Regions from separate parts of the Homo sapiens genome. Here region 2 is linked to region 1. Evidence: promoter capture Hi-C in human tissues and cell types (Jung and others, 2019). All regions are on one chromosome and are shown on one strand. The core of a region is centred on a gene start or on the middle of the fragment in contact, and the rest is flanking DNA. Distances in the headings are between cores, read along the strand shown. Region 1 holds the start of CSPG4 (chondroitin sulfate proteoglycan 4). Region 2 holds the start of LOC101929408 (a long non-coding RNA gene).

Region 1 (4,490 bases), core at 1,362-3,861:
GGGAGCCACCACCCCTGCCTGCCCTGTGCTCACTGTGACCCCCCGACTAGAATGTCACCTCCTTCCTTCTCTGCCTGTCCTTCCAGTATCAGCTCAAATCCAATCTCCCCCAATGCTTGGCTCTCTGCTGGGGCCTCCCATACAGCTCAGAAGGAGCTGGACACCGCATCTGTCACCCACACTGTCTCAGTGGCCCAAGCCTAGGCCCCGACGCAGGCTGGGAGCACCCTCGAAGCAGGGCTGGGGGCTCTTCCTGGGCTGCTGGGGTTCTTGGTGGAACTCAGAGTACTTTTCTTCCTCTCTGGGGCCTCAGTTTCCCTCTCTATACAAGTGGAAGATTGGCCCAGATGGCCTCTAGGGTGCTGACTGCCAGGCCCCCTGACCTGGATGCCTCAAATGTTGATGAGTAGAGGGAGAGCCTCCCAGCACGCCTCATTCGGATACGGGAGGACGAGGGCCTTTGCAGCCAGGGGCATCCAGGAGGGGTGGGAGGGACGCCTTCCTCAGGCAGGGGCTGCCCCTACTGCAGAAATCAGGGCAGGCAGCTGGACCAGGAGTGGTGACAGAGATGGGTTGCTGGACGGGAGCTCTCACAGCCCCTCCTCATTTCCGAGTCCTCCTAAAGGCAGGGGATGGTGTAACTTTATAAAACCCCACAGCACCATGCTGCTCTCTTGCCCTAAAACCCTTGTGGCATCTCCTTTGCCAACAGGGCATAAGGCCGTGGGCTTCATTTTGCCATTTAAGGCTTCTGTGCCCCAGCCCAGTGGTTCTCCCTGGCCTGTGCTCGAAATACGCCTCCCAGCCAGGCTGCTGGCCTTCCTGTCTCAACACCCCTCTGCTTACGCCCACCTTGGTGCCTCTGAGTCAGCGCCCCTGCCTGGAGGACTGACTCCCTTCCCATCCACCAAGGCTTGGTTTGAGGCCCACCCTGTGTCCTGCCCCAGCTTGCCCCTGCTTTTCTCCCCTCTGTACTTTTCATCCAGATTTTTGCTGTTTGAGATTTAATTTGCCTTTCTGCCTCCTGAATGAGTCTCAGTTCAGCCTCTCAATTTCCCGTGCCCCTGCGAGCCTAGCACCATGCCTGCATGCTGTCAGGGCTAAGAAGGTATTTGAGAATGGCTCTCAGTTGAAGCCCAAGGAGGTGGGGGTACTGGAATCCCTCCTTGGCTGGAGGCTGGGGCCTGAATGAGCTGACCACCCTGGTCACCTTGGATGCTCCCTTCCCATCTCCCTGGCGGCCCAGCCCATCCCTCAGGCCCTGAGATCTTAGGGGATCTGGTCCCTGCAGGAACAGGGAGCCTGGAGATCCAGCCCTGATTCACCCCGCGGGGGTCCTCCCTTGACTCACTTCCCTTCTGGGAACCATGTGATGCCCTCTTTTAGAGCTGGCTTCTCCATCTGAAGGAGAGAAGGGTGTGGCCTGGGCCCTTGTGAAGGAGGCTCAGGCCCTGCCTTTGCTCCATGTTGCTCTTGGGAATGATCTCGAAGGTGTAGCTGAAGCACTGAATCACACGTGGGTAGTGATGATGGATGGGCCCTAAGGCCACAGTTCTTATGGCATAACTAGAGCTGCCTTCGCTGAAGGAAGAATGCTGTCATGTTGGGGTTTCTGGCATCGGGACAGAGAGGGGATATATCCCAGCACTTCTCGGAAAGCGAACTTCCATTCAGCCTCTGCTGGGTCAGGCATCAGTGCTGGGATGAGGAGGTGTGGCAGGGGGTGGTCCAGAGCTATCTGTAGGACAAGCCCCGCTGAGGGGCACCAGCTCTCCCTCTAGGAGGCTGAGAGTGGGTAGTGGGTGGGGGGTCCTGCCTGTCACCAACAGGAGGAGGGAGAGGAGAGAATGAAGAGGGGAGGTGGCAGATAGACGGATCTGCAAGGAAGCAAGGGGAGGAAAGAAGGGGCAGAGCTGGGGGGCAGCTGGAGGGGTGTGGGGGTGCTCCTCACAGGGGAGGGCAGGGTGGCTCATTCCTCGTTTCCCACCTTGTAGCACTCCCCATTCCTGGCCCAGGGCATCTGAAGCTGGAGGACCCACTTCTCACTGTCGCCGGGTCCCTTTGGACCCCAACATACTCACCCCAAACTTGCCTGGCAAACAAAGCTCGGCCAGCATTGGGGTGGCCCCACTGGTGTCTCAGACAATCCAAACGGGCAAAGCCACGCCCTAGGCAATCCATGCCTGGGGCGCCTGCTCCCGCCCCTAACTGGACAGCCTTGGCTAGCTAGAAACCCCATAACCTGAGATAGCGGGGTCCCGTGTCCGCCCCAGGATTGAACCCCTGGCGACCCCAGCTAGTGGTGGGAGAAGCGCAGCCTGCTTGACTCCCGATCTGGGGGCCACTTCTGGCTCCTCCTGTCCCTTTTCCCTCCCGGAGGAACCCCTCTAGTTCCGCCAGGCTGGGTCGGGGTCTCAGGCCCCTCACTCACCCGCGGATGCAAGTCTGGCCAACATAGTCAGGGTCAAAGCCAAGGCCAGGCCGGGGGCTGGAAGTGGGGGCCGCGGCCCGGACTGCATCCCGGCGGGCTGGGCGGCAGGACTTGCGAGGAGCCAGCGGAGTCCTGGGAGCTGGGAGCTGAGTGGAGCGAGCGCGGCTCTGCTCCTGGGCGCGGGCCGGCTCCGGGTGTCCGCGCACTTAACTCCGGGGGCGGGGCAGGCGCAGACCCGCGCGCCCGCTCGGGTTTCAGGCTTGGACTCCCCCACCTGCCCCCACCCTCAACCTTCTTAAAGGGCCCGTGCGGGGCTGTTCCTCTCTGGGGCAGGGGTGAGGGGGCCCTTGCAGCTGGGCCAGACCCCAGCCCCACCCTAAAGACTTAGAACAAAGTCATAGAGAGGCCCAGACACCCTGAACTCTGGCCCCAAGAGCCGAGCCCGGGAGACCCCCTCAGGGAGGAGGCATGAACTGTCCCAGCCCCTACTTCCCTCCTTTCTGCCTTTGCGGGAGTTCAGGAGACCCCTCCACAGGCACACTCCAGCCTTAGGAGGAAGGACAGACACCAGCCACCCTCACAGGCGGCTTTTGGGCTGCTTTGCCTCGGAGGTCCCCTAGGAACTTCTCCAGACTCCAGAGGCACCACCCGAGGTCCTGTGGGGCACTGCCCATGGCTGCAACAGTGACCTTCTCTGCCTGGAAGGGCCTCACCTCAGTCTCCCTGTCTGTAAGGGAGAGATGTCTGGATTTCCTCGCAGGGCAGAAGAATTCTCAGTCCCGCCATGACATTTGCCTCAAAATAACCTTGCAAGGTGGGTGAGGAGCATCCCCTCCCCCATTTCATGGAGGACGAAAGTGCAGCTCAAGCTGAAAGTGGCTCTTACAAGACTCCAGGTGGAAAGTAGGTCCCTGGCCGTTTGGTGCCAGAAGCCCAGGCCTCCTGACCCCTGAATCCGGGTGTTTCAACTTCCCGAGGCTGCCTCCTGGAAATCTGGCCCTGGATTTGGCTTCTACCTAACAGCTTCAGGCTGGGGCCCTTCTGCTGGCTCCCTTCCAGGCAGCAACATCAGCCTAGTCCCAAACAGGAGGAGAAAGGGCAATGTTACTTAGCTTCCGGTGCCTAGAGGATCTGCGTGTTCTCTGTCCAGTCCCAATGTTACCGGGCCTTGGTTTACTTCCTCCATTCAGGTCCCTCCATCTATCTGCTCCAGCCCATCTCCAGCCCAACCCCACCTTGCACCCTCTTCCCAGCTCTTCCCTTTGACCAGTAACAGCCCAGCACTTCATACTTTGCAACGAAACTGAGACCTGTTTTGCAGATGAAGAAACTGAGGCTGAGAGAGATTAAGGGACTGGAGCTAGTCTACATAGCTGCTGAGATGTGGGGCCAGGTCTTTGACCCTAAGTGCAGTGCTCAGGTGTGATGGTGCCTGGTCCATGTGGGGGTTATGAGTATTGGTCTTGAAACCAGAGAGACCTGGGTTCAAATCCCAGCTCCCTTACTTGGTTGTCAAACCTTGAACAAGTCCCCTCACCTCTCTGTGGCAGTTTCCTCATTTGTAAAATTGGGTTAATGAGGATTAAATGCTTTAATGTACCTCAAGTCCCTAGCCCAGGGCCTGGCATACGGTAGGTGCTCAATAAATGCTTATCCTTTCTCCTCCGTCTCTGTCATCCTGCACATTCCCTGTGATTCATGGTTTACATACAGCTTTACACATATCACCTCCCTTGTTGTAAAGCTTGAACTTTCTCCTCCAGAGGCTGCTGCATACAGTAGGTGTACAATAAATGCCTGCTGTAGTTGACTAAGAAACCAATTGCTGCTGTTCTGTAGGGATTTTGGCAAACCTAAGAGCTTCCATCCAGGTGCCCTAGGAGGCCTGGGATGGAGGCTGTGCTAGGCTGGCCTCAGTGGCGGTAAAGGCATTGATTCCACAATTTGTCCCTTGTTTTTTTTTTTTTTTTTTTTGAGACAGAGTCTCGCTCTGTTGCCCAGGCTGGAGTGTAATGGCGCGATCTCGGCTCACTGCAACCTCTGCCTCCCGGGTTCAAGC
Region 2 (4,490 bases), core at 1,478-3,977, 47 kb after region 1:
CCTTGGCCTCCCAAAGTGCTAGGATTACAGGCGTGAGCCACCGCACCCAGCCTTTTTTTTTTTTTTTTCTGTTTTCCTTTTTTTTTTTTTTTTTGAGATGGTCTCATTCTGTTGCTCAGGCTGGATGGAGTACAGAGGTACCATCATGGCTCACTGCAGCCTCCACATCCCATGCTCAAGAGATCCTCCCACCTCAGCCTCTTAGGTAGCTGGGACGACACTTGTGCACCAGCAGAAGCAGCTAATTTTTTGTAGAGACTGGGGTCTCCCTATGTTGCCCAAGCTGGTCTAGAACTCCTGGGCTCAAGTGATCCACTGGCCTTGGTCCCCCAAAGTGCTATGATTAAAGGTCTTATGTTCTTAAAATTTTTCTTTGACATGGTATAGGATAGTCTAGTAACTTAACATACTGTTGTTTTCAACAGGCTAGTGCTTATGATTTGTAAAAGAACTCTTCAGAAATGAGTTCAATTTTACCATGAATTGGGACATTTTCCATTTCTTTCTATTCCATAGAGCAGTTTACTTGTCATGAGCTCTGTCTTTTGAAAACCTGAAAGCCTGCAATAAAACCAGCTGCACCTGGTGCATGGGATAGGCATGGAATTGAGGAGAGAGCTCAAACTACGGTCAGCCCTCTGTATCCTCGGGTTCTGGATCCTTGGATTTGACCAACTGTGCATCAAAAATATTTGGAAAAAGTAAAATAAAAAAACAAATTTAAAAATACTTCATACAGCTATTTACAAAGCATTTACGTTGTATTAAGTATTATAGTAATCTAGAGGTGATTTAAAGTCTACGGAAGGATGTGCATAGGTTATATGCAAATACTATGCCATATTATATCAGAGCATCTGTGAATTTTGGTATCTCTGGGGTCCTGGAACCAATATCCTGAGGTTTCTAAGGGACAACTGTATTCAATTTCTTCTCTGGTTATTAGTCTATTCTCTAATGTATTTTTGTTGTTGTTTTGTCTTTTTGTTTTTGCCTCTTCAAGTCAATGTCGGAAACTTAGTTGTTTTAGACAACCCATTAGCTCAGAGCTACCAGTAAGCAGACTACCACTGCAATCTAAGCAACGGATTTTTTCCCCCATCAGACTGGCAAAAAATAAGCATCTATTGATGTTGAAATTGTAGGGAGTTTTCCTGAGCATGTTAATTATGACAGCCCTTTTTGCTAGGCACCTACACAATTCATCAAAATGAAATAAAACACCCATGCACTTGAAGAAGTTATCTGGTTATTTCCTTATCTGGGTGCTGGTTATGTGAGGTCTACAGTTAATGAACACTTATTAAGCTTTATATTTCTAATAGGTACAATTTTCTGCATGTGTAGTAGATTTCAATAGTTTTTAAAATGTCTTTTGCCGCAGCCCGCAGCTGTGTATAATGCTATTCGCTTAACAGTGGAAAACATGGCAATGACCTGAATCCCCCTGGCTCCCGGGATCCTACCCCCTTAAGTTAAACAAATGAAATAACTTCCACTGTCTTTCCTAATGTCTTAATTCGGTCCTCAGTTAAACTGGCGGTGGGCGCTGCTTTTTTTCCAGGGAAGGATTCTGGAAGACATAGGAGGAGACGCCAGCATTTCGCCCTCCAGCACCTCCTGCGGGCTGTGGTCCGCTTCCGGCCTCACTCGAGCAGACCCCGCCCTCCCAGAGGCCGTTTGTCCAAGTCACGTGATCGTCGAATCTGTTGACCTGGCGCCACCGGAAAAAGAAATTCCCGGGCCCTGGCTTCTTGGCCTGATGGTGAGGCACCAGAGGTGAAGCGAGGCATGGGCTGCTGGAGCGGGAATGAGGGGGCGACAGTGGCTCCGGAAACGGGGGGAGGGTGTCTTCACTGGCCTCTCCGCAAACACAGTGTGTGCGGGTGTGAGGGCTGCAGGTCTGGTAGAGAAGAGTCCACCGCCATCCCGCTCCTGAGACGGGGGCAGGAGTGGGGGGCAGGAGTGGGGGGGCGGGTAAGACAGAGCAGGCCGGCCGGCTTGTGGAGGGCGAGGCAGGCAGATCCCTTGAGCTCAGGAGTTTGAGACCAGACTGGGCAACATGGCAAAACCCCATCTCTACTAAAAATACAAAAAATTAGCTGGGCATGGTGGCACATGCCTGTAGTCCCAGGTAGTTAGGAGGCTAGGGTGGGAGCACTGCTTGAGCCCAGGAAGTAGAGGCTGCAGTGAGCCGAGATCATGATGTCACTGCACTCCAGCCTGGGCAACAGAGTGGGACCCTGTCTCAAAAAATAAAAATAAAGTGGAAGCATCAGTATGCATGATTGAAGTCATGCTTTCCATCTATTTTTTTCCACCTTCCCTTTTTTCTGTCTAAAACATTGTATCTTAAGCTTTTGCCTATGTTATCAAGTACTCATAAGCATTATTTGAATGGTTGTATCATAATCCATTATCTGGACTCATTGTCATTTATCCATCTGCAGTTGCTGGAGATACTGCCCTTTCTGCCACACTCAGTCACCCTTCTGACCTTGCACTGTGTCCAGTTATCTACTAATACCCATACTGGTCATTTAGGACTTAAGAATAGTTATCATAGTTTTTAACATTCCAAAAAGAATGTGTCTTCCTAAAAATAGAATGGCTTGGTGGTTATACTTTTAAAGCAAAATAGACAAAGCCATGTTGAAATTAATGTTTTATTTTCTTCTTGTATCTATTTTCACTTCTCTTGTCATTTTGATGGATAAAGTTTCATTTGGAAGGATTTTTATTTCAAAACAGAAATAGCATATGACATGAGAAGGGGAACTCTGAAAGGTTCAACTTCCTAGTTTACTAAGTTTGTCACAAAAGCTACTGATAGTCAATCATGATTGGCCTGTATTGAAAGTGAGTTAACATTATGTACAACTTAAGCACTATACTTTCTATCCGATACAGAAAAATAGGTGGTGTGTTTGGAAAAGTATTGGGCTAGGAGTCAGGAAGCTTGATTGTTAGTCTCAACCCTGCTTCTTGAGCTGAGCACCCCTAGGCAATAATTCAGCAGCTATTTCTTAAATACCTAAATGAATTTCAGGCTTTGTGGTTGGGCTGGGAATATAGACATAGATACTGCATTCATGATTCTCCAAGCCTCCCTTCTTCACCCCGGCTCACAGTGAGCTTTCTTATGCATTGTGTAAATTTGTCTCCTAACAGGCCCCAACTCTGTCTCCAACCTCCTTCCCAGGGCAGTTGTGAGGATCAGATGAGGGAGAATATGTGTGAAAGCAAATTGTAAATTATTTTAAAATGCAATAAAAATATGATCCATGGAAAATTATTTAAAGATCCTTATTAAAATTATTAAAGATCCTTAGAATTTTAAATAAACAGTACATTAGGCCGGGCATTGTGGCTTAGGAGAGCGCTGGGTCAAATCAGTCCCCTCCAGCTACGCATTGCCTGGAGCTGCTCTCCAAGGACCCCTCAGCCACAGAAGGCGCTGGTCCTCCTACAGTGCTGCCCCACCCCCACCACCACAGCCTCCTGGGGGTGCAGTCAGGGGTGCCCTCCTTCAGGCTCTGCCCCTGCACCCACTCCTACACAACTACTCTCCCTGCCGGCAGCCCCAGAGACCAGATTGGTTTGGGCCTCTGCCTCCGCAGGCCCGAACCACCATCTCTTCTGCTCCCCAGAAAGCCAGCTCCCAGCACACAGGCAGCGTTCCCTCTTCATTCCTCAACACAGAGGGCCCCTCACAACCCTCTCAGCAGATGGTAGAGCTCCCCACGCATCCTCTTAAAGAGGCTTCACCGTTGATGGCCACAAGCCCCACCATGACCTCCTCCCAGGGAGTGAATTTTCTTACATGTCTCCCACCAGAGCAGGGACAAAATAAAACATAAAAGCAGCAGCTGTTAAATTATCAGCAACATTTCCTACTAGGATCAACTCACGGAGTGGGCAGTGTATTCCATTAGGTGGATCAGTGCAGGGGTTAGCAAGCGTTTTCTGTAAAGGGCCGGATGGGAACTCTTTAAGGCTCTGCAGGCCACTGGGTCTCTGTCACCACCTACTCAAACCCTCCCCTGTAGCAAGAAAGCAGCCCTAGCAACATGTCAACAGATAAGCGTGGCCACATTCCCAGAAACCTTTCTTTATGGACATGGAAGTTTGCATCTCACGTAATTCTCATGTGTCACAAGATACGACTCTACTTTCCATGTTTTCAACCATTTAAACATGTAAAAGCCATTCTTAGCGCGTGGGCCACACAAAAGCAGGCAGCAAGAAATTTGGCCTTTACACCAACAGCAGCTGACCCCTGGATGGAGCATTAGAGCTTGGGTGTGTGTCCCACTCCAGGGCTTCCAGGAGAGGGGATGCAGGCCGATGCCACCTCCACCCCTGTCGCTCTAGGGGAGAAGGCAGAGCTGGTGCTGTATGAAGTTTGGCTGCAGATCCTGGGCCAGCCCTACACCAAGGCCTTGGAGGACAAAACCAGCCTTGAGTTCTGGGCACTTCAGGGGCAACCG

What was found. The method cuts DNA at HindIII sites, captures the fragments that hold promoters and counts their contacts. A contact is called where the count stands out against the background at its distance.
Region 2: a fragment that was not itself captured here is called in contact with the fragment with the promoter of CSPG4 in region 1 in 7 of the 25 tissues and cell types used here (aorta, dorsolateral prefrontal cortex, heart left ventricle and 4 more).

The regions. Positions count from the first base shown.
Region 1 is chr15:75,710,237-75,714,726 of GRCh38, forward strand. It overlaps CSPG4 (chondroitin sulfate proteoglycan 4), which reads right to left and starts at 2,612. Exons shown (of 10, transcript NM_001897.5): 1 at 2,432-2,612. The coding sequence starts at 2,519. The HindIII fragment of the contact is 20,321 bases long and covers 1-4,490 here.
Region 2 is chr15:75,756,849-75,761,338 of GRCh38, forward strand. LOC101929408 (a long non-coding RNA gene) reads left to right here and starts at 1,694. Exons shown (of 4, transcript XR_932487.3): 1 at 1,694-1,779. The HindIII fragment of the contact is 5,413 bases long and covers 22-4,490 here.